Linked DNA regions of Homo sapiens: all the other regions are linked to region 1. Evidence: promoter capture Hi-C in 16 types of primary human blood cells and fetal thymus (Javierre and others, 2016). All regions are on one chromosome and are shown on one strand. The core of a region is centred on a gene start or on the middle of the fragment in contact, and the rest is flanking DNA. Distances in the headings are between cores, read along the strand shown.

Region 1 (2,774 bases), core at 105-2,604:
AGAATTGCTTTTTCTGTTAACATTATTTAATTCATGACTTGTTCATGATACCTCATTTAATAATAGTATAAATTTATGAATAACATTATCAATATATATTAAAATAACCTCTAATAATATTCATATCTTCATGTATTCATTTACAGTTGTTTCTTTATTAATGAATATATTGAATGTATATGATAAAAATCCTCAATAATCTTTTTATGTTTATTTATGTCTATTTTTATGTCTATTTTGCTGCAGATCTCTATCCTTATGTTTATAAAAGTCTTAAATGTAAAATTTAAAGTAATTTAGTATTGTCTTTATGCGTTATTATTATAACATAAGAAAAGTGAAATGATGCATTATACATAATCTATTCAAACTATCTTATCGTAGCATTTAAAAGTTAATTATATAGTGCTAACATCTAGAAATTCTGTGCAGAACTAACATATTGGAACCGTAATTTTCTTATGGCCTCTTGCATTTTCTTATTTCTCAGGGTATAAATACTCGGATTCAGTAAGGGTGTGATAACTGTATAAAATACGGCAAGAGTTTTATTGCTTGCCAAACTACTGAATGGCCAAACATAGATAAAAATACAAGGTCCAAAGAACAGAGTGACCACAATGATGTGGGCAGACAATGTGGACAGCGCCTTGGAGAGCCCATGTGATGATTTTTTTGGTACACTGACCAGGATGACAATGTAAGAAACAAGCAAGAGGATGAAACAGGTGAAAGAGAGCAGCCCGCTGTCAGCAATGACAAATAATTCCAGGGTGTATGTTTCAATGCAAGCAAGCTTGATCACAAGGGGAAGATCACAAAATATGTTGTTTATGACATTGTGGCCACAGAAAGGCAAGTTCATTGTTAAAACTATCTGGCTTATGGAGTGTAAAAAACCAATTATCCATGAAAGTATCGCAAACCCCTTTAGCAGCTTGTGGCTCATGATTGTCCTATAGTGCAGGGGTTTACATATGGCTACATACCTGTCAAAGGCCATGATTATCAGAAGAGTCATCTCAGCACCCCCAAAGAAGTGCATGAAGAACATCTGGGTCACGCAGCCCCACACAGAGATGGTCTTGTGGTCAGTGAGCAAATCTATGATCATCTTGGGTGTTGTGGCAGTGGAGAGACACATGTCCAAAAAAGAGAGATTTCCAAGGAGAAAGTACAAGGGAGAATGAAGGGTTGACCTACATGTCACTGTGACCATAATGAGAATGTTTCCCATCACAGTAGCACCGTAGATCAGGGAAAATGTCACAAAGAAGAAAATTTGAAGTTCCCATCGTCCAAAAAATCCTAGTAAAATAAACTCGGTCACTAGAGATCCATTTTTAAGATCCATTTACTCAACTCAGAAAGGTTCCAGAAGTTCTTTATATACAAAGAGAATTAAAAAATAAGTCACAGTTAACACCAATATTTTCTTATTTCTATTAGTTGGTGATAATAGTTGATGATATGAGATCATATAATTTTAAATATATCAACACAGAGATTAGCTTAAATATTATATCACTTTGAAACAATTACTCTGCAGTAATTACAAATCATTTGAAGAAGTAGAAGTTCCATTTTCTATTGTTTATTCCATAAAATCATACTCTTATCAATGGATCTTGACTTTCTTACTCATTTGTTCACATATAAAGATTAGATACTAATTAATTACTTTTTATTTTGCCTTTTATTATTATAGTATTCTGTACCTGCACTTCTTGAGATTATGTTATCCCAATATATAAGGAATACAAGATTTAGAAAATGAAGAATTACATTGTTCTACATCTCTGAAGTAATTTATGAAGGTTTTTCTATGGTTCTAAACTAAATAAGCAAACAAACAAACAAAAAGCACACACACACACACACACAAATCAGGAGCAAATTATACATGGATGAAAGTATATAAATTTATTTAAAATAATTTTTCTTTTTAATATACATGTATACCTCTTTTATTGTGTTTCACTTTATTGTCCTTTGCAGTTATTTAATGTTTTATAAACTGAGGGTTTGTGACAACCCTGGATCCAGCAAGTCTATTGGCACCATTTTTCCAACAGCATGTGCTCACTTTATGTCTCTGTGTCACATTTTGGTAATTCCCAAAATATTTATTTCAAACTTTATTATTATTATTACACGTTATTTGATCTGTGACCAGTAATCTTTTATGTTACTATTTTCATTATTTTTGGGCACCACAAGCCGTGCCCATGTAGAATGGCAGACAATTGATAAATGTTGTTTCTAACGGCTCCACCAACCTACTCTTCCCTCATCTCTCTCCTTCTCTTCAGGCCTCTCTATTCTTTGAGATACAACAATATTGGATTTAGGCCAATTAATAGCTTTGCAATAGCCTCTAAGTGTTCAAGTAAAAGGAAAAGTTGCATGTCTTTTATTTGAAATAAACTAAGAAAAAACTGGAGACAGTTAAACGTTCAGTGGTTTCCAGGGGTTTGAATGAAGAAGGAGAAATGAAGAAATAAGAGAAGTACGGAGAATTTGCAGGGTATTGAAACAATTCTTATCTACTATACTTAGAAATACATAACACATTTGTCAAAACCCATAGCATGTATAACATCAAGAGTAAATCCTAATGTAAACTACAAATTTGGGGAGATAATAATGTGCAATGTAGGCTCACCAGCGGTAACGAATGTACCACTCTGGTTCAGGTTGTTAAGGGTGGGGGAGACTGTATGTGGCATCAGAGGGCACACGGGAACTCTTGTACTTCCTGCTCAATTTTGCTG
Region 2 (2,774 bases), core at 96-2,595, 230 kb before region 1:
TTCTGCCTAACTTTTAAATCTTAGGTTCCCAGGACTCTATTTTTGTTTTTTTCCTTTTTTCTCTTTATATCAGGATGGCCTATAGTTGCCAACTTTGATCACTTGTCAGTGGTTGCCTGACATACTGTGTAGAAGGATTCTGAGGCTTTGACTGGATTCATCAGGAGAGTGCTTTGCTTGATTGCAATATTTCCTGTGAATTCAGGCATGTCACGTGATGGCATGAGTGTGATTCTTCTCCATCCTGTCTATAGATCATCTTGCCCTGTGATGTCATATAAACCCAAGGCTTTGGCAGCCTCCTATATGCTTACAGATATATCTCCAGCCCAAGCTTCATTTCCAAGTGTTGGATTCCTATAACCATCTGCTTCTGGGTTCCAATAAGAAATCTCTAACTCAGTATTTCAGTATTACTCACCTAAATCTTTCTCTGTAAACCTGCTTCTCCTCCCTGGATTCCTTGTGAATGAATGGTATCACCTCTCAGTCACTTGATTAAGACTTTTGGAAGAATAGGCTTCTCCATTCTCCAAAAAGATTTGCCTTTTTTGTCCTATAGACTTGACTTCTCTGTGTTTACCACCTTAATTCACCCCCTTATCACTTCTCCAGATAGGTCTCCCTGATTCTCTGGTTTCCTCCAGTGTTCCACAGTGCTGCCAGAGAAATGTTTCTTAGATGGAAATCTGACCATTGCTACTTCTTATTTAAGATCCCTTACTGGTACTATATGTAGCTTTTGGGATAAAGTGTGAACTACTTAGGTTAGCATACAAAGTCCTTCATGATTTGCTCCCTGCTTCTCTTTCTATTATCTTTTGTCTCTTTCCCACCAGTGCCTTTTGTTTCAACCATGGAACAATTTTGTTGGTTTTAGAACAGCTGTTTTCATGCCTCTGTGTCTTACATACAGTTACTCTGCCTGGATAATCTCTAGCTTCTTCTTGACATAGCTAACATCCTCTTCTGCCCCCAACATTTTGTATAAAAATTTTCAAACATATAGCTAAGTTGAAAGAGTTTTACATTGAACATTTGTGTTCTCATCCACTTATATTCTACCATTAATATTTTATTTTACTTAGCTTATTACATATCAGTCTGTTTATCCTGCTATCAGAGTAAATTGCAGAGATCAATATACTTTACATACTTTAGCATGCAGTCATTAACTGAGTTCAGTATTTGTTTCAATTTTTTCTTTTTATGTAAAATTTACATACAATGAAATGTACAATTTTAAGCGTACATTTCATAGCTTTTAACAAATGGAAAATATCTGTATAACCCAAATAGAGATCATTACCACCATTCTGGGAAGTTCCCTGATGTTGCCTCCAAGTCAAAATCTCTGTTCCTATCCCCTCAGAGGTTTTTAACATTTTTACCGAGGATTAATTTTTCTCTTTTAACCCAGCTGGTTTTTTACCCTTTAAGATTCACTTTGAGCGTCACCTCTTCCAGGAAATCTTCCCTGCTTTCCAATTTTGATTTAGATATTTGTCCTCTGGGCTCCCACAGCCCAATCTGTGGCTTCATTGAATTCAGCACAAGGGAAAAGCTATTCTAGCACCCATCACACTGTGCTGTAAGTGATGACTTCATTGTCTGACTCCTGCTAGACTATAGGTCATTCATAGCTGGATTGGTATCTTATTGCTAAACACAATGCTTGGCACATATGTAATATTCAGTGAAAGTTTGTGGAGTTAAACTACACAGACAGTGATGGTTAGAGGCTTTGGTTAAGAGTATGATAGTTAAATTGATAGACCAGGAATAATGTTACAACTGTAACATGTTGGTCTAGTTCATCATTAATATTTGTTGAATGGCTTCAGTGTGCTTTGTCCTAAGTTCTTAGCAAAGTGACTGATGAGTTTCAGAAAAATGAAGACTCAGATATATAAAGTGGAAGATGGTACCTCTCATAGGTTTTCTGAGTAACTGAGAAAAAGCATTTGTTTATTTTGTTAGTATTTTATTTTTAAAGTTTAATTAAGTTAAATTTTATATTTTATTTTAATTACCTGTCACTGACTTTAAGTCCAGTATTTTGCTAGTATTTTTAAACCACTGTTTCTGCTCTTCTTTCCTACCCACATACCTTTTTGTTTTCCTCTCTCCTAATCTGTCTTTACTTGGTAGTACATTTGGCCTGGTAGATTCAGATGGACCTTGCTATGCAGTGATGGTGTACAATATAGTGCAGAGCTGGGGAGTGCTCATTGGAGACTCTGTAGCCATTCCTGAGCCCAACCTGCGGCTTCACCGAATTCAGCACAAAGGAAAGGTGAGCAATGGCTAGGATTCTCTTACAACTCGTAGGCTCTAAAAGTAGAACCAAGCTTATCTTTTTATAAAAGATATAGAAATAATTATATGTAAGTATGTGTGTAGGCTATGTGTATATATATTTGTGTGTATATGTTTTATTTATATATATATATGTATTTTTTTACTAAAAAGGTAAACTGGTAAGCAGAAAAATAAAAAAATGCAGTGAAATATTATCACTCAGGTATTACTGCCTTTTAACTGTTACTGTTAACAGTTTGGTGTATATACCTGAAGTCTTTTCTTTTCACAAATATATACACATATATCTATATTTTAAATCATGAGTGGGATATTATATGCAAATGTTTGTGAATGTTTCCTATGTTTTTACATATTTCACCACATTGAGTAGACACGGGGTGATGAAGATGGTAATGATAGTTAACATTTATTTAACACTTAATTGAGTGCTAGACACTGTGCTAAGAGTT
Region 3 (2,774 bases), core at 193-2,692, 200 kb before region 1:
GAGGATTTTTGCATCAATGTTCATCAAGGATATTGGTCTAAAATTCTCTTTTTTGATTGTGTCTCTGCCCGGCTTTGGTATCAGGATGATGCTGGCCTCATAAAATGAGTTAGGGAGGATTCACTCTTTTTCTGTTGATTGGAATAGTTTCAGAAGGAATTGTACCAGTTCCTCCTTGTACCTCTGGTAGAATTTGGCTGTGAATCCATCTGGTCCTGGACTCTTTTTGGTTGTTAAACTATTAATTATTGCCACAATTTCAGCTCCTTTTATTGGTCTATTCAGAGATTCGACTTCTTCCTGGTTTAGTCTTGGGAGAGTGTATGTGTCGAGGAATTTATCCATTTCTTCTAGATTTTCTAGTTTATTTGCGTAGAAGTGTTTGTAGTAATCTCTGATGGTAGTTTGTATTTCTGTGGGATCGGTGGTGATATCCCCTTTATCATTTTTTATGGCATCTATTTGTTTCTTCTAGAGATGGGGTTTCACGCCATGTTGCCCCAGGCTGGTCTTGAACTCTTGACCTCAAGTGATTCACCTTCCTCAGCTGCCCAAAGTGCTGGAATTACAGGCGTGAGCCACTGCACCCGGCCTAGGTTATATATATTCTTATACACTGCTGTATTCATTTAACTAGGTTTATGTGTGTGTGGGTGACAAGTGATTTTAGTTTAGTTTTTATTGCTTAGTGTATTCTAGTTTGGTTTTGGTATCAAATGTAAGCTTGCCTCATACAATGAGTAAAGAGTGTTTCCTCTGTGTGATTATTTGAAGAGTTTATATGAAATTGTCTTCTCTTTTTTTTTGGTAGAATTTACCTGTAAAGTCATCAGTACTGCACATTTTGTTAATAGAAAGGTTAACTACTGATTTAAATTCTTTGATGTTTATTGGTTTGAATCATTCAATTTTTCTCTTGAGTCAGTTTTAATATTTTGTATTTTTATAGTAATTTATCCATTTCATTTACATTTTCAAATTTTCTCCTCTAAACTATTAGTAATACATGACCATAACATCCTCTCATTTTTCTTTTTGTGGGAGCCTGTCTCTCCATCAAGCCAAGAATCTCCTTTAATGATATCTAGGACAGGTTGTTCCTCCTCGTCTGTCAGTGACCCATCAGCCTGTTGAGTACTGGGGAAGCACAGTGCCTGTTACTGGCAAGTTTACTGCCTTCATTCTTTCTAATCTTGATCTTTTATGCTGAAGTGTTAGTTTATCTATTCTCAGAAGACATTTGGACAAAAATGCTATTTTTAATTTCAAATGAAAATTATGTTGTTAGAATTAGTCTCTGTATAAATCAGAGTCACATTTTAAATTTTCCTAGGACTTGGTTGGTTTTCTCAGCACACTCTCAGCTCCTGGCAGGTTTGCATAGAGCAGGCAACAATGGGAAAGTGCTCACAGAAAATTTTGCATCTATAAGTGGATAGGGAGGTGATGGAATAGGGCATATGTGGGAAGATACAGGAAAAGGAAAACTGTTCTTACTCCTTACCCGCCCCCCCCATAGGAGATGGTGCTGTACAGCGGGAAAGAGAATTGGATTATAGTTTTCTGCTCCCTAATTGTAACTTTCTTTTTCATTTATTTCAGGAAGTTATATATACAATGGTGTAAAATTGAAAAGTTATTAAAAACTATACAGAGAAAAAACTTCATTTTCACGCCTGACCTCTACTTCCCTTACTGGAGTAACGACTCCATTTTATTGTTTTCTTCCGGAGATATTCTATCTATATAAGCATAGTGGTATATTGCTTAAAAATACACAAATAACACTGCCTGTGTGATTTTAGGAAAATCTCTTGAACTTCATTATTAACTTCTTTAAATTCCTAGATGAAAATACTTACACAAACCTGGAAAAACTCAGTGATTTTGTAGAAATCAATCAAGTAGTGTTTGTGAACATGTTTGGAAAATCATCAGTTATTTTATAAGTTTGAGATGGAGGGAGGGTAGTCATGAAAGTTTTACTTTTCTACACAAAAGACAATGAGTCACATGGGATCTGACTTGACAAGAGTGATTCTGAATTGGCAGCCTGGCTGTGTGTCAGCAGCCCCCTGGCTAATTCCTCTCATAGTGTGTTGGGGTTTTCTTCATGGCTAATGAGGAGATCTATTCGCTTGAGATAGGAAGTGGAAGCTTGCCAGAGTGTGAGACACCTCACTTTCCTCCCTCCCTCCTTCCCTTTGCCCTTCCTCACGTTTAGGGAGTTAGTATTGGAACTTTGGCTGATGCAACAGTTTGAGTCACTGTCTCTCTGTGCTGTGGGATCCACTCACTTTTAATGGGGAGTTGATGGAATCACTCCTCCCTCCCCCACCCTGACTTCCTCCTCTAATTGGCTCTCAGGGGACTCCAACTCCTGCTAATCAACCATGGCAGAGCTGCTGCAGAGAGCCCGAAACTGGCACTCAGGGACCTAGGTTCTGTTGTGACTCTGCTCCTTCAACTTTCTTTTCTAATCTGTTAAAACAACTTTGCCTTTGGATTAGGCCTGGGAGAATGGGGTTCCTTTGGGCATTGCCTTTGCAGAGACAGTTTTAATAATGCCAGCATCTTCTAGACTTTGCCAACTATTGTGTTCAGCTTGAATCTTTTTATTCATGGTGGCAGAGAGGGGAAAAGATTAGGTATCTGTTTCATGTGTCCACAGTGGGGGAGGCAAATGATAGGAGAAAAGAGAAGATGAAAGAGCATATCATTTGAGGAATGTGAGCCTCAACATATTGGTCCACATACTGCTTCTCTATTAGCAA
Region 4 (2,774 bases), core at 140-2,639, 190 kb after region 1:
CATGCTGTGGAAGGAGTATAACCCTCACTTTATCTACCAGAACCTTGGATACATGACTTTGTTCAATGTAATGTGACTAGAAGTATCATATGCCACACATGAGCAGAAGTTTTAAAAGTCAATGCGTGACTCCAGCACTGTTTATATATTTTATTTTTTAACTCATCAGGGTCTTAGGATAAATAGAATAAATACAAAGAAACATTGAGAGATAGACACACATGTGCGCGCGCGCGCGCGCGCACACACACACACACACACACACACACACACACGGGAGGAATACAGAATGATGAGATATTATATGTAAATATGGAGTACCAGCCAGACCCTAGCCATCTGATACACTCCAGGTGAGGCACAAGATATGTTAGGAAATCCGTTCTGAAAGTTCCAGTACCAGCGGAGCTCCCAGGTAAATAATGCAAGTGCATGAGTCTTTCCTACAGACCGGAGAGTGGCACCTTACATCTTTCTATTGTCAAAGTGGTTAAGCTGAGAACTACAGTTCCCAGAATTCTTTTCTACACGTCTTTCCGTATTGGAGTTGTCTAAAAATAAATGTGTTTGGAATTTGAAAAGCAGCCCAAAGCACCAGCCATTACTCTCTGATCTTTGTGGCTATACAGATGCAGAGGTGCCAACAGCTTCTAGCTTGTTTTGTTCTCAGCCACTTCACTCTGCGTCCACCTTTTTCCCAACTTCTGAATTGGAGGATCAACAGAAGCCTCAGGCTGCCTGCCTGCAGATCCTCAGAAGCAGCAACTGAACAAAAATTTTTCTACCAGCAAAATTTTCTAAATTTTGCTCCTTTCATGACCTCTACTTCATTGGCTAGATGGGCTTGGTTTCTCGATTGACTGGCTATTGCTGCCTCTGATTCTGCAGCTCCCTGTTTCATGTCTTTGCTTTCCTAAGTCCTTCCAGAATTGTTTAAGGTCTAATTCCTATGGTAAATGCCTTATCCTACAGTGCATGGTAGCTCTGCTTTCTAAGTTGAACTCTATTTCTTAACCTAAGTCAAAACTAACAATGTAGATAAAATCAGAGATGTTTTGATTTTATCCCTGACATTCCAACATGTCAATCCTATTGTCCCCTATCATCTCCCTCTCCTTAGAGGTAAATATATATATATATATATATATATAAATAGGTATATATATGTGTATATATATAAAAATAGGTATATATATGTGTATATATATATAAATAGGTATATATATGTGTATATATATATAAATAGGTATATATATGTGTATATATATATAAATAGGTATATATATGTGTATATATATATAAATAGGTATATATATGTGTATATATATATATAAATAGGTATATATATGTGTATATATATATAAATAGGTATATATATGTGTATATATATATATAAATAGGTATATATATGTGTATATATATATAAATAGGTATATATATGTGTATATATATATAAATAGGTATATATATGTGTATATATATATAAATAGGTATATATATGTGTATATATATATAAATAGGTATATATATGTGTATATATATATAAATAGGTATATATATGTATATATATATAAATAGGTATATATATGTGTATATATATAGATAGGTATATATATGTGTATTTATATATATATACACACACACACACACACATATATATACCTATTTAAATATATATGTGTATATTTAATATATTTAAATGTTCCTCCATGGGATTTTATTATTTTATATTCCTTCTGGCATTACCTCACTGTAGTGTCATCTAGAGCAGGTGTTCAAGCTGCTAGAATTTTGCTGCCTGATAGAAACATTTACCATATGATAGTTGATATGTGGTATCTCAATGAATTTCAACATATGTTCATATAAAAAAGAGTTTGAGCATCTTTTCTATAGAAAATAGCTATTTGCGCTTTTTTCCCATTTTATGCAGGGTTCTTGGTCTTTTTATTGTCTAATTTAATAGCTTTTTATGTACTGATATACCAGTGCTTTGTTTTTTTATCTCTCAGTGCAAATGAGGAGATTGAGATTTATGATAATGTGGTGATGTACTCAGTATAATATAATAAAGTCTTGTACTGTGATGTAAACTCAGGCCTCCAAATCTGAGATTCAATGTTCTTTATATTACACTAGAGGCATATAATGCAGTTTCATCAAGTTATTTCTTTTCATCTTATGAATACAAGCTCTGTGAAATATAGTCAAAACTTTCTTGTTAATAGAGAAATATTTAAGTATGGGTGGCATTTAAATTTTATTGATTGTTATTCTGATTTTTAGCAGATATTAAAATTTTGATGATTACTTCACATTCTTTACATAGTTAGAATTTATAAACCAGAATTTTTTCACTTTTCACTTTTTTCTTCCATTACTCCATAATGATTCAAGTGAATAGTACAAAATTTAAATTCTCGAACATTCATTTTATTATTTTCTGTATCAGTTTTTTTCCAAATGGGGATACACAGGCCTTATACTCATTTGTTAATGGAGGAACTGGGAGATAACACTTGTAGTCTCATAAGTCAAATAATAGATACTATTTGTCTTGTCTTTGCTGTGGTCCAAGATACGCGTTATTCTTTATATTTTCCCAGCCAATCACATCCATGTCCTGTACATGAAACATTTACGAGCAATCATGCATTCTGTAATTCACCTTTAAATATGGCCAAACCAACTAGAAAGTTTTAATAACTCCCACTGCAACTTGAACATTTGTTTATTCCCCAAGCAGCAGCTGGTCTTTTTCTTGCCATGTAATT
Region 5 (2,774 bases), core at 129-2,628, 170 kb after region 1:
TGCTTTTGCCATGTGACATGCAACCTCCCTTTTAGCCTTCTGCCATTATTGTAAAATTCCTGAGGCCTCCCAAGAAGCTTAGCAGATGCCAGCATCATGCTGTCTGTACAGCTTGCAGAATCTTGAGACAATTAAACCTCTTTTCTTGATAAATTACACAGTATCAGATATTTCTTTATAGCAATGCAAGAATGAACTAATACCTCACCTCTACACATAAAAAAAGAAATTAGCTGGGCATGGTGGTTACGCCTATAGTTCTGGCTACTTGGGAGGCTGAGGTGGGAGGATTGTTTGAGCCCAGGAGGGTAAGGCTGCAATGAGCCATGATCATTCCACTACACTCCAGCCTGGGCAACAAAGCAAGACTCTGTCTCAAAAATAAAATAAAATAATAGTGGGGAGCTAGGTGCAGTGGCTCATGCCTGTAATCCCAGAACTTTAGGAAGCTGAGGTGGGTGGATCACTTGAGGCCAGGGGTTCAAGACCAGCCTGGCCAACATGGTGAAACCCCATCTCTACTAAGAATACAAAAAACTAGCCGAGCATGGTGGTGTGCACCTGTAATCCCAGCTACTCAGGAGGCTGAGGTACACAAATCACTTGAACCCAGGAGGCAAAGGTTGCAGTGAGCCAAGATCGCACCATTGCACTCCAGCCTGGGTGACAGAGGAAGACTCTGTCTCAAAATAATAATAATAATAAAATAATAATAATAATAGTGGGGGACTTTAATACCTCACTGAAATCACTAAATAGATCATTGAAGAAGAGAATCAACAAAGAAACTCTGGACTTAAACTGAAAAATATACCAAATGGACCTAATAGACATCTACAGAACATTTTACCCAACAACTGCAGAATATACATTTCTCTTATCTGCACAAAGACTACCCTTCAAAATCAAGCATATGCTCAGGCATAAGGCAAGTCTCAATACATTTTTAAAAACTGAGATTATATCCAGTACCTTCTGGACCACACTGGAATAAAATTAGAAATTAATACCAAAAATACTCTCAAAACTACACCAGTACATGGAAACTAAAAACTTGCTCCTGAACAACTTTTGGGTAAAAAACGAAATCAGGACAGAAATTGTAAAAATTCTTTAAAATAAATGAAATAGAAACACAACATACTAAAGTCTCTGGGATACAACAAAGGCAGTGCTAGAAGGAAAGTTTACAGTGTTAAATGCTTACATCAAAAAGATGGAAATATCTAAAGTTCACAATATAATGTTGCACCTGAAGGAACTAGAAAAAACAATAAAAAACCAAACCCAAAGTTAGTAGAATAAAATACATACCTGAAATCCAAGCAGAAATAAGTGAAATTGAGACAAAAAAACACAGTGTAATCAATGCAACAAAAAATTGTTTCTTTGAAAGAATAAACAAAATTGACAGACCACTAGCTAGACTAAGAAAAAAAGAGAAAATTCAAATAAGTACAATCAGAAATGATAAAAATGACATTACAACTGACACCAAAGAAATACAAAAAATAAGAGACTACTATGAACACCTCTATGCACACAAACTAGAAACCTAGAAGAAAGGAATTAATGCATATAAACATACACTCTTATTCAACATAGCACTGGCAGTCCTCTCCAGAGCTATCAGGGAAGAAAAAGAAATAAAGGCATTCAAATTGGAAAAGAGGAAGTTAAATTGTCTCTGTTTGCTGACAACATGATTGTATACTTAGAAAACCCTAAAGACTCCTCTAGAAGATTCCTAGACTTGATAAGCAACTTCAGAAGAGTCTCAGGATACAAAATCAATGTACAAAAACTAGTACCATTTCTATACACCAATAATCTTCAAGCTGAGAACCAAATTAATAACTCAATTACATTTACAATAGCCACACACAAAAATAAAATACCTAGAAATACACTTAATCAAGGTGGTGAAATATCTTTACAAGGAGAACTACAAAACACTGATGAAAGAAATTGAAGATGACCCACAAAAAATGGAAAAACTTTCCATGCTCATGAATTAGAAGAATAACTATCATTAAAATGACCTCATTATCCAACCAAAGCAATCTACATATTCAATGCAATTCCTATCAAACTACCAATGTCATTTTTCACAGATTTAGAAAAAAAAAGTCCTAAAGTTCATATGGACCCAAAAACAAAAACAAAAACAAAAACAAAAAATCCCAAAGAGCCAAAGCAATCCTAAGCAAAAAGTTCTAATTTGGAGGTATTACATTGTCTGACTTCAAATTATACTACGAGGATATAATAACTAAAGAAGCGTGGTACTGATACAAAGATAGACAATAGAACAGAATACAGAACCCAAAAACAAAGCCACGTACCTGTAACCAGCTGTTCTTTAGTAAAGTCAACAAAGACAAGCAATGGAGAAAGGACACTCTAATCAATAAATATTCAATAAATGGTGCTTGGAAAACTGGCTAGCCATATATGAAAGAACAAAACTAGACCCCTACCTCCCACCATATACAAAAATTACCCCAAGACGGATTAAAGACCTACATGTAAGACCTGAAACTATACAAATATTAGAAGAAAACCTAGAAAAACTCTTTTTAATATTGGCCTAAGCAAAGAGTTTGTGATGAAGACCCAAAAGCAATTGCAATAAAGACAAAAATAGGCAAATGGGACTTAAACAAACTAAAAAGCTTCTGCACAGCAAAAGAAATAATCAACAGAATAAACAGACAACCCACAGAATGGGAAAAATATATTTACAAATTATGCCTCTAACCAGAGATTTATAT
Region 6 (2,774 bases), core at 78-2,577, 170 kb before region 1:
CAAAATCATTGAGAAAAAGATGATCTGAATTTTCCAGGGACCAGGAAACCCCAACAACACAAACTGCGTCACAGTAGATATCTGTGAGTTATTCATGCTTCCCAGACTGTGGAGAGAACACCGATGGTCAATGACAATTTGCTTTGCTGATGAAGCATCTTGAAGCTTTTTTTGGGATAAGGAGTTTGACTCTTGCAGGTGAATATATTGGATATTCTAAAAGAATTCTTAAGCACACCTGGTTTATCTTTCTCAAATGAGTCCTGTGGGTCTGATTCTTGTAAACTTCAGGTTGTTTGAATTTTCTGTGGCAATGGACAAAAATCAACATTTCATCTTCTTTTGATATAAAGAAATTCTTGAAATAGAGGCAAAAATGGTTTGTTTTATATCTAATTTGTTTTTCAGTGAAAGATGTTCATATATAGCAATTACTTATTGCTGTTCACTTCAAATTATGAAGACATATGCCATCATTTTTAATATATTCAAGTCTGAGACTTTTTACAGCTTTGAGTAGTTTGTACTTTTGACATTATTTCAGATTCTTTCTTTCCGGAGCTATTTCTGTTAAGAGTATTTATTTTCTTCCAATTTTTTTAGTGATACCAGGAGAAAGTCAACAAGGATATTTAGATAATAAAATTCTTTATATATTTTGCTTTTTCCTATTTAGAGACATTTATATTGTACTACAGCTTATTTACAATTTGGTATTTAATCATTTGCTTTTAGCAATAAAATGTCATAATTATTCATTTCCTGGTGATTAATTTCACATTATAATTTATCATGCTCCATATACCTTTAAAAAGAAATATTTCATTAAAGATAACATATAAGATAGCGAAGATAACTACAGTTACTGGGATATTTTCTTCTAAAGCTCCTCTTATTACTTTTGCCAGAATTTTCTCTAAAATTCACTGTTTGTAAGATCTTTCTTTAGTCCATGTAAAATAATAGCCTCCAAATATTCAAAAAAACAAGATACAAGAGAATCAAAGGTGTTATTTCAAACATAATTATTTACCCATTTTCCGAGAGTTGGTTTGTTTCCTTTAGAACACCATCACCAAAGAAGATATATTTTCAAGAATCAAATACAACTCCAAGAAAAGAGTAAATGATAGCTTTAACATATGGGACTCTTCAGAAAAATTTTAACAAGATACCTTTAACTTTTTTGATTGTTAAGAGGATAATTTGCCTTATATTTTTTTCAATTAAAGTAGCACATATATAGTATTTGATCAAGGTGGTATATACATATATGTACACACACACATATATACATAGTGTGTTTGTCTGTATGCATATATATTTACAGTACTCACTGAACATAATCAAATAGAAAAAACCCTCCTATTCAGTGAGGTTATATTAAATAAGAAATATATTTATGATCATGCAGCTGTTGCAGTTAGTAATGCACAAGGTGAACTATGAATCTACCCATCTAGAAGGAAACATAGACCTTTTCATAGAGCTGGTTTTGCAAAAGGTTGTGGTTTGGTGGACAAGAAGCCAAAAAGAGAAAGAAACTGCAAGATGGGGATCAGTGATTTTTAATTTTTTAAACTAGGATGATTATGAAGAACTAAACTAAACCTGCATCGATGGTCATTTTTGTAAGATATCATAAAAGAATGGCTCCCCACTATGGGTCCTCTATACATTCTCCTTTCCGAGCAAGAAACCTCTCTCCTCAACAAGATGAGAAAGCAGTGATGCAGGGAGCAGCCACTTATGCTTGGAACAGAGAAGGAGCAACAATGTTTTTGAACTCAGATTCACAGACTTTGACCCAAAATCAAAATGCACAAGACCGAGCTGCTTCTTTGAGCTTAGACTACTTTCATTGACATTAAAAACAACAAACAAACAAAAACCTTGCAGAAAAACAATTAGCCACAGGGAAAGCATGGTAAATAAATTTCACAGATAATTTCCAACATATTTGTAAGAAACAGTTCCTAATATATTCACCACTAAATCTATGTGAGTTCTTAGTCCACAAAAACATTGATTTTATTTTTATCTTTTCTTTTTTTTTAAATGTCACTTCTCCTGAAGGTGCAAAGTGAGTAATGAAAGGGACAGAGAGAGGAAAACAGAGAGAAGATTAAAAAAAATTCCAATTTTCTTTTGGTTTTAGTCCCAGTGGATAAAGCTAGTTCCATACTGTTAAGCTCAAAATCTCTACAAACGTCATAGCATTCCTGGTGCCTCAGGCACTTCCTGAGAAGGAGAAGACCTGTGGATGATTAGTGTACTTCTTTTGGAAAGTGTGAATTGCATGGTGATCTCAACACTCTGAGGGATTTTTTTTCTTTTGGTTTTTGAGCTGAAAGATAGACCAATATTCTTTGATACTCAATCTCTGAAGCATGTTGAATGAAGAAATGTATAGGTGAGTAGTCCATCTGTCGTGTATAACAGCAGCAACGCTCAACGAAGAATACCTCTCCTACATACCAGGAAGCTTTCCTAGGTCATCCCTGAGAAAGCCTGCAGGGAGGCCACACGGATTCTCTCCTTCACTGGCTCCAATATGGAAGTCCTGTGTCAGAGCTTCACCAGTGGCTTATTTCACTTCTCTTGTACCCTAAGAGTCTAGTGGCTTGTTTCTCACTGAGGGTGTTGAACTATGTGTTGGTCTTAATTTATGCCTCATTTGAGGCACTGTTGAGAATTCTCAGGTCTCCCTTCATGTTCTTGTGATTCTGTAACTTTCTGTGCTGTCCCTAGGGATCTTCATACATCTTGCCTGG
Region 7 (2,774 bases), core at 165-2,664, 160 kb after region 1:
CAACGCTTCAGGGATATAAGTATCTGTACAGGCAAGTTTGATGACCAAAGTAAGGTCACAATAATAACTGTCCACTATGTTTGGGCCACAGAAGGGCAAACTTACAGTGAAAGCTAACTGGCTCAGGGAGTGCATAACTCCAGTGACCCAAGATCCTACCACTAGGCCTGTACATGTGCACAAGTTCATGATGGTTGCATAATGGAGAGGTTTGCATATGGCTACATATATGTCATATGCCATGGCTACAAGGAGCACCATCTCACCACCAGCAAAGACATGGAACAAGAATATCTGGGCCATGCAGCCCTCAAAGGAGATAGTCTTGGGTTCATGAAGGAAATCATGGATAATCTTAATCCATATTGTCTCTGAAGTTACGTTAATGGTTTGGGTTTGAGGTAAATTCCCTTGCAGTTAACATTTTACTATATGAGAATATGTAAACTGAAATGGTACACATGTCAGTACAGAATATTAGTAGATAAGGTGATGATAGCCGTAAAATGAAGATTTGAAAAATGCCAGAAATCCTCATAGAGAATGGCACCATATCCTCTACTGAATGCCACTTTTGTCTAGATGTCAGAGTGGGCTGGTTTGAACTGAGATGAGTATAGAATGATGTTAATATGCTTCTGTAGAGTCTTTTCTATTCAATATTTCAGAAAAAGACCCATAGAACCAAAAAAACCCTCAAATATTACAGAAATTGATCTTTAAGTCATTTTCTATCATACCCAAATTCAAATTTTATGCTCTGGACTAAAATTGATATAATTATTTTGTGGTTGAGTCAAAGGACTTTGCACAAAACTGTAAGTCCAAGAATCATAAGCCATTGCTCCAAGTTTCATTCTCTAGTTAAAGGTCTTACTTCCATTTTCCAAAAAAAAAATCTCAAGCAATTGGATCAAGCAAGTTGTCGACATAAATTTTTTTTTAAAAAAAGACTTACCTGATTCAATTATCTACAGATTTTGAGAAAGTTCAAACAAGTTTTGGCTTCTTTCAGATCAAATGTTCTTGAAGGGGACCTGCACCAAATGTGCACATACTTTAGAGTTAAGGTGTTATAACTATCATAAATATTGACTTAGGTAAACCTCCTCTTCTTGACACTCTATTTCACCCTTTTCCCATTTTATCATTTATCTATTTCATTTAGGACTTGGGATTGAACAGGAACCACGGGAGTATGAATGTGTCCCATGATGATTCCTTGCCATTAAATATTTGCTGGCTTGTTGAATAGGGAAAAGGGTTCAAGTCCAGACAGCCAAACCACTTTCAACTTTCTTTCAACTCCAGAGCTCTTTCCCTTGTCTTACTTATAACCAATTACACGCACTATGTTTCTAATAGATTTAGGAAGAGTTTTACATGGAGAGATTTCTGCGACACTATACGAAGAATTGAATTGAACTGAATCTTCAGTGATATTCCACACATCAGTGAGAAGAAACTCAGCAAAGAACAGCTGATGCACTGCAATACGAATGTTAAATGAATTCCTGTTTTAATTTTAAATGTTAAAAATTATTGATAGGATATCCCATAGAAACATATTTGTATTCTTAGCATACACTCCACTTAATTATGGTGTGTTATATGAGAATATTATAACTTTGGTTTGATGTGCTAATTATTTATTTAGGATTTTTCGTATAGGTTTACAATTATAGTAGTTTTAACTTGTTGGGCTATCCACTTCCTATTTTGGTAGTAAGACAATGATAGGCTCACAAAATTAGTGGGGTTGCTCAGAAAAGTGTTTCTATATCCTAGCATTATCTGTACTTTGATGGTTTGGGAAAGATTGTACATAAACATGAATGTAGCTTGCGAGTTTTTTTTAATTATTATTATTATACTTTAAGTTCTAGGGTACATGTGCACAACGTGCAAGTTTGTTACATATGTATACATGTGCCATGTTGGTGTGCTGCACCCATTAACTCATCATTTACATTAGGTATATCTCCTAATGCTATCCCTCCCCCCTCCCCCCACCTCACAACAGGCCTCCGTGTGTGATGTTCCCCTTCCTGTGTCCAAGTGTTCTCGTTCAATTCCCACCTATGAGTGGGAACATGTGATGTTTGGTTTTTTGTCCTTGCAATAGTTTGCTGAGAATAATGGTTTCCAGCTTCATCCATGTCCCTACAAAGGACATGAACTCATCCTTTATTATGGCTGCATAGTATTCCATGGTGTATATGTGCCACATTTTCTTAATCCAGTCTATCATTGATGGACATTTGGGTTGGTTCCAAGTCTTTGAGAGCTTGTGAGTTTTATAGGATGATACTTTTAGCTTCTTTTAATGTAATCCATGATGATTACAGCTTGAATTTTCTCCTCCTTAGAAAATTTGACAATGTATGATTTCTGAAAAAATTAAAAATTCATGTCAATGAATGTTGTCTTATGCTTTTACATTATTTAAGTTGTTTAGCTTCCTAAACATATAAATTTATGAACACTTTTCTGATCTATAATAATTAATTGTACAGTCTCTTTTTAACTTTAATTTTCATCAGTACTGATCTTTTCTTTTTTCTTATTCTTCTGTTATTTTTGCTTTTCCAAGAGCCATATTTTTGATTTCACAAGGAGCTGCACTAGATTATTTGTGTTTTTTTATTTCAAGAACTTATTTTTTAATTGACAAATAAAAATTCTATATATTTTTATTGTACAACATGATGTTTTGATATTTGTGTACAATGCATAATGGCTAAATCAAGCTATTTATCACGGGCATTACCTCA

What was found. Contacts are between HindIII fragments. The CHiCAGO score rates a contact against its expected background, and 5 or more counts as called.
Region 2: a contact is called between a fragment that was not itself captured here and the fragment with the promoter of OR4L1 in region 1, in 4 of 17 cell types (M1 macrophages, M2 macrophages, M0 macrophages and 1 more). The highest score is 7.0, in M1 macrophages.
Region 3: a fragment that was not itself captured here is called in contact with the fragment with the promoter of OR4L1 in region 1 in 4 of 17 cell types (M2 macrophages, M1 macrophages, erythroblasts and 1 more); the score reaches 9.6 in M2 macrophages.
Region 4: a fragment that was not itself captured here is called in contact with the fragment with the promoter of OR4L1 in region 1 in 8 of 17 cell types (naive CD4 T cells, total CD4 T cells, M2 macrophages and 5 more); the score reaches 9.0 in naive CD4 T cells.
Region 5: a fragment that was not itself captured here is called in contact with the fragment with the promoter of OR4L1 in region 1 in 5 of 17 cell types (total CD4 T cells, naive CD8 T cells, non-activated CD4 T cells and 2 more); the score reaches 6.8 in total CD4 T cells.
Region 6: a contact is called between a fragment that was not itself captured here and the fragment with the promoter of OR4L1 in region 1, in 1 of 17 cell types (endothelial precursors). The highest score is 5.1, in endothelial precursors.
Region 7: a contact is called between a fragment that was not itself captured here and the fragment with the promoter of OR4L1 in region 1, in 9 of 17 cell types (naive CD4 T cells, total CD4 T cells, non-activated CD4 T cells and 6 more). The highest score is 8.5, in naive CD4 T cells.

What each region holds. Positions count from the first base shown.
Region 1 is chr14:20,058,625-20,061,398 of GRCh38, reverse strand. It overlaps OR4L1 (olfactory receptor family 4 subfamily L member 1), which reads right to left and starts at 1,354. Exons shown (of 1, transcript NM_001004717.1): 1 at 416-1,354. The coding sequence starts at 1,354. The coding sequence ends at 416. The HindIII fragment of the contact is 2,043 bases long and covers 799-2,774 here.
Region 2 is chr14:20,291,505-20,294,278 of GRCh38, reverse strand. TTC5 (tetratricopeptide repeat domain 5) reads left to right here. Exons shown (of 10, transcript NM_138376.3): 9 at 2,152-2,296. Among named protein-coding and RNA genes, the nearest start is that of TTC5, 13 kb to the left of the region's middle. The HindIII fragment of the contact is 2,017 bases long and covers 337-2,353 here.
Region 3 is chr14:20,262,322-20,265,095 of GRCh38, reverse strand. It overlaps LOC124903279 (a long non-coding RNA gene), which reads left to right. Exons shown (of 2, transcript XR_007064057.1): 1 at 1-2,774. Among named protein-coding and RNA genes, the nearest start is that of OR11H4, 24 kb to the right of the region's middle. The HindIII fragment of the contact is 1,434 bases long and covers 726-2,159 here.
Region 4 is chr14:19,871,091-19,873,864 of GRCh38, reverse strand. No RefSeq gene overlaps it. Among named protein-coding and RNA genes, the nearest start is that of OR4K2, 2.7 kb to the left of the region's middle. The HindIII fragment of the contact is 5,805 bases long and covers 1-2,774 here.
Region 5 is chr14:19,887,328-19,890,101 of GRCh38, reverse strand. No RefSeq gene overlaps it. Among named protein-coding and RNA genes, the nearest start is that of OR4K2, 14 kb to the right of the region's middle. The HindIII fragment of the contact is 2,598 bases long and covers 80-2,677 here.
Region 6 is chr14:20,226,724-20,229,497 of GRCh38, reverse strand. It overlaps the pseudogene OR11H7. Among named protein-coding and RNA genes, the nearest start is that of OR11H6, 4.4 kb to the right of the region's middle. The HindIII fragment of the contact is 2,320 bases long and covers 168-2,487 here.
Region 7 is chr14:19,903,500-19,906,273 of GRCh38, reverse strand. The region is part of intron 3 of LOC124903278 (a long non-coding RNA gene); the gene reads left to right. It also overlaps the pseudogene OR4K4P. Among named protein-coding and RNA genes, the nearest start is that of OR4K5, 16 kb to the left of the region's middle. The HindIII fragment of the contact is 5,016 bases long and covers 1-2,774 here.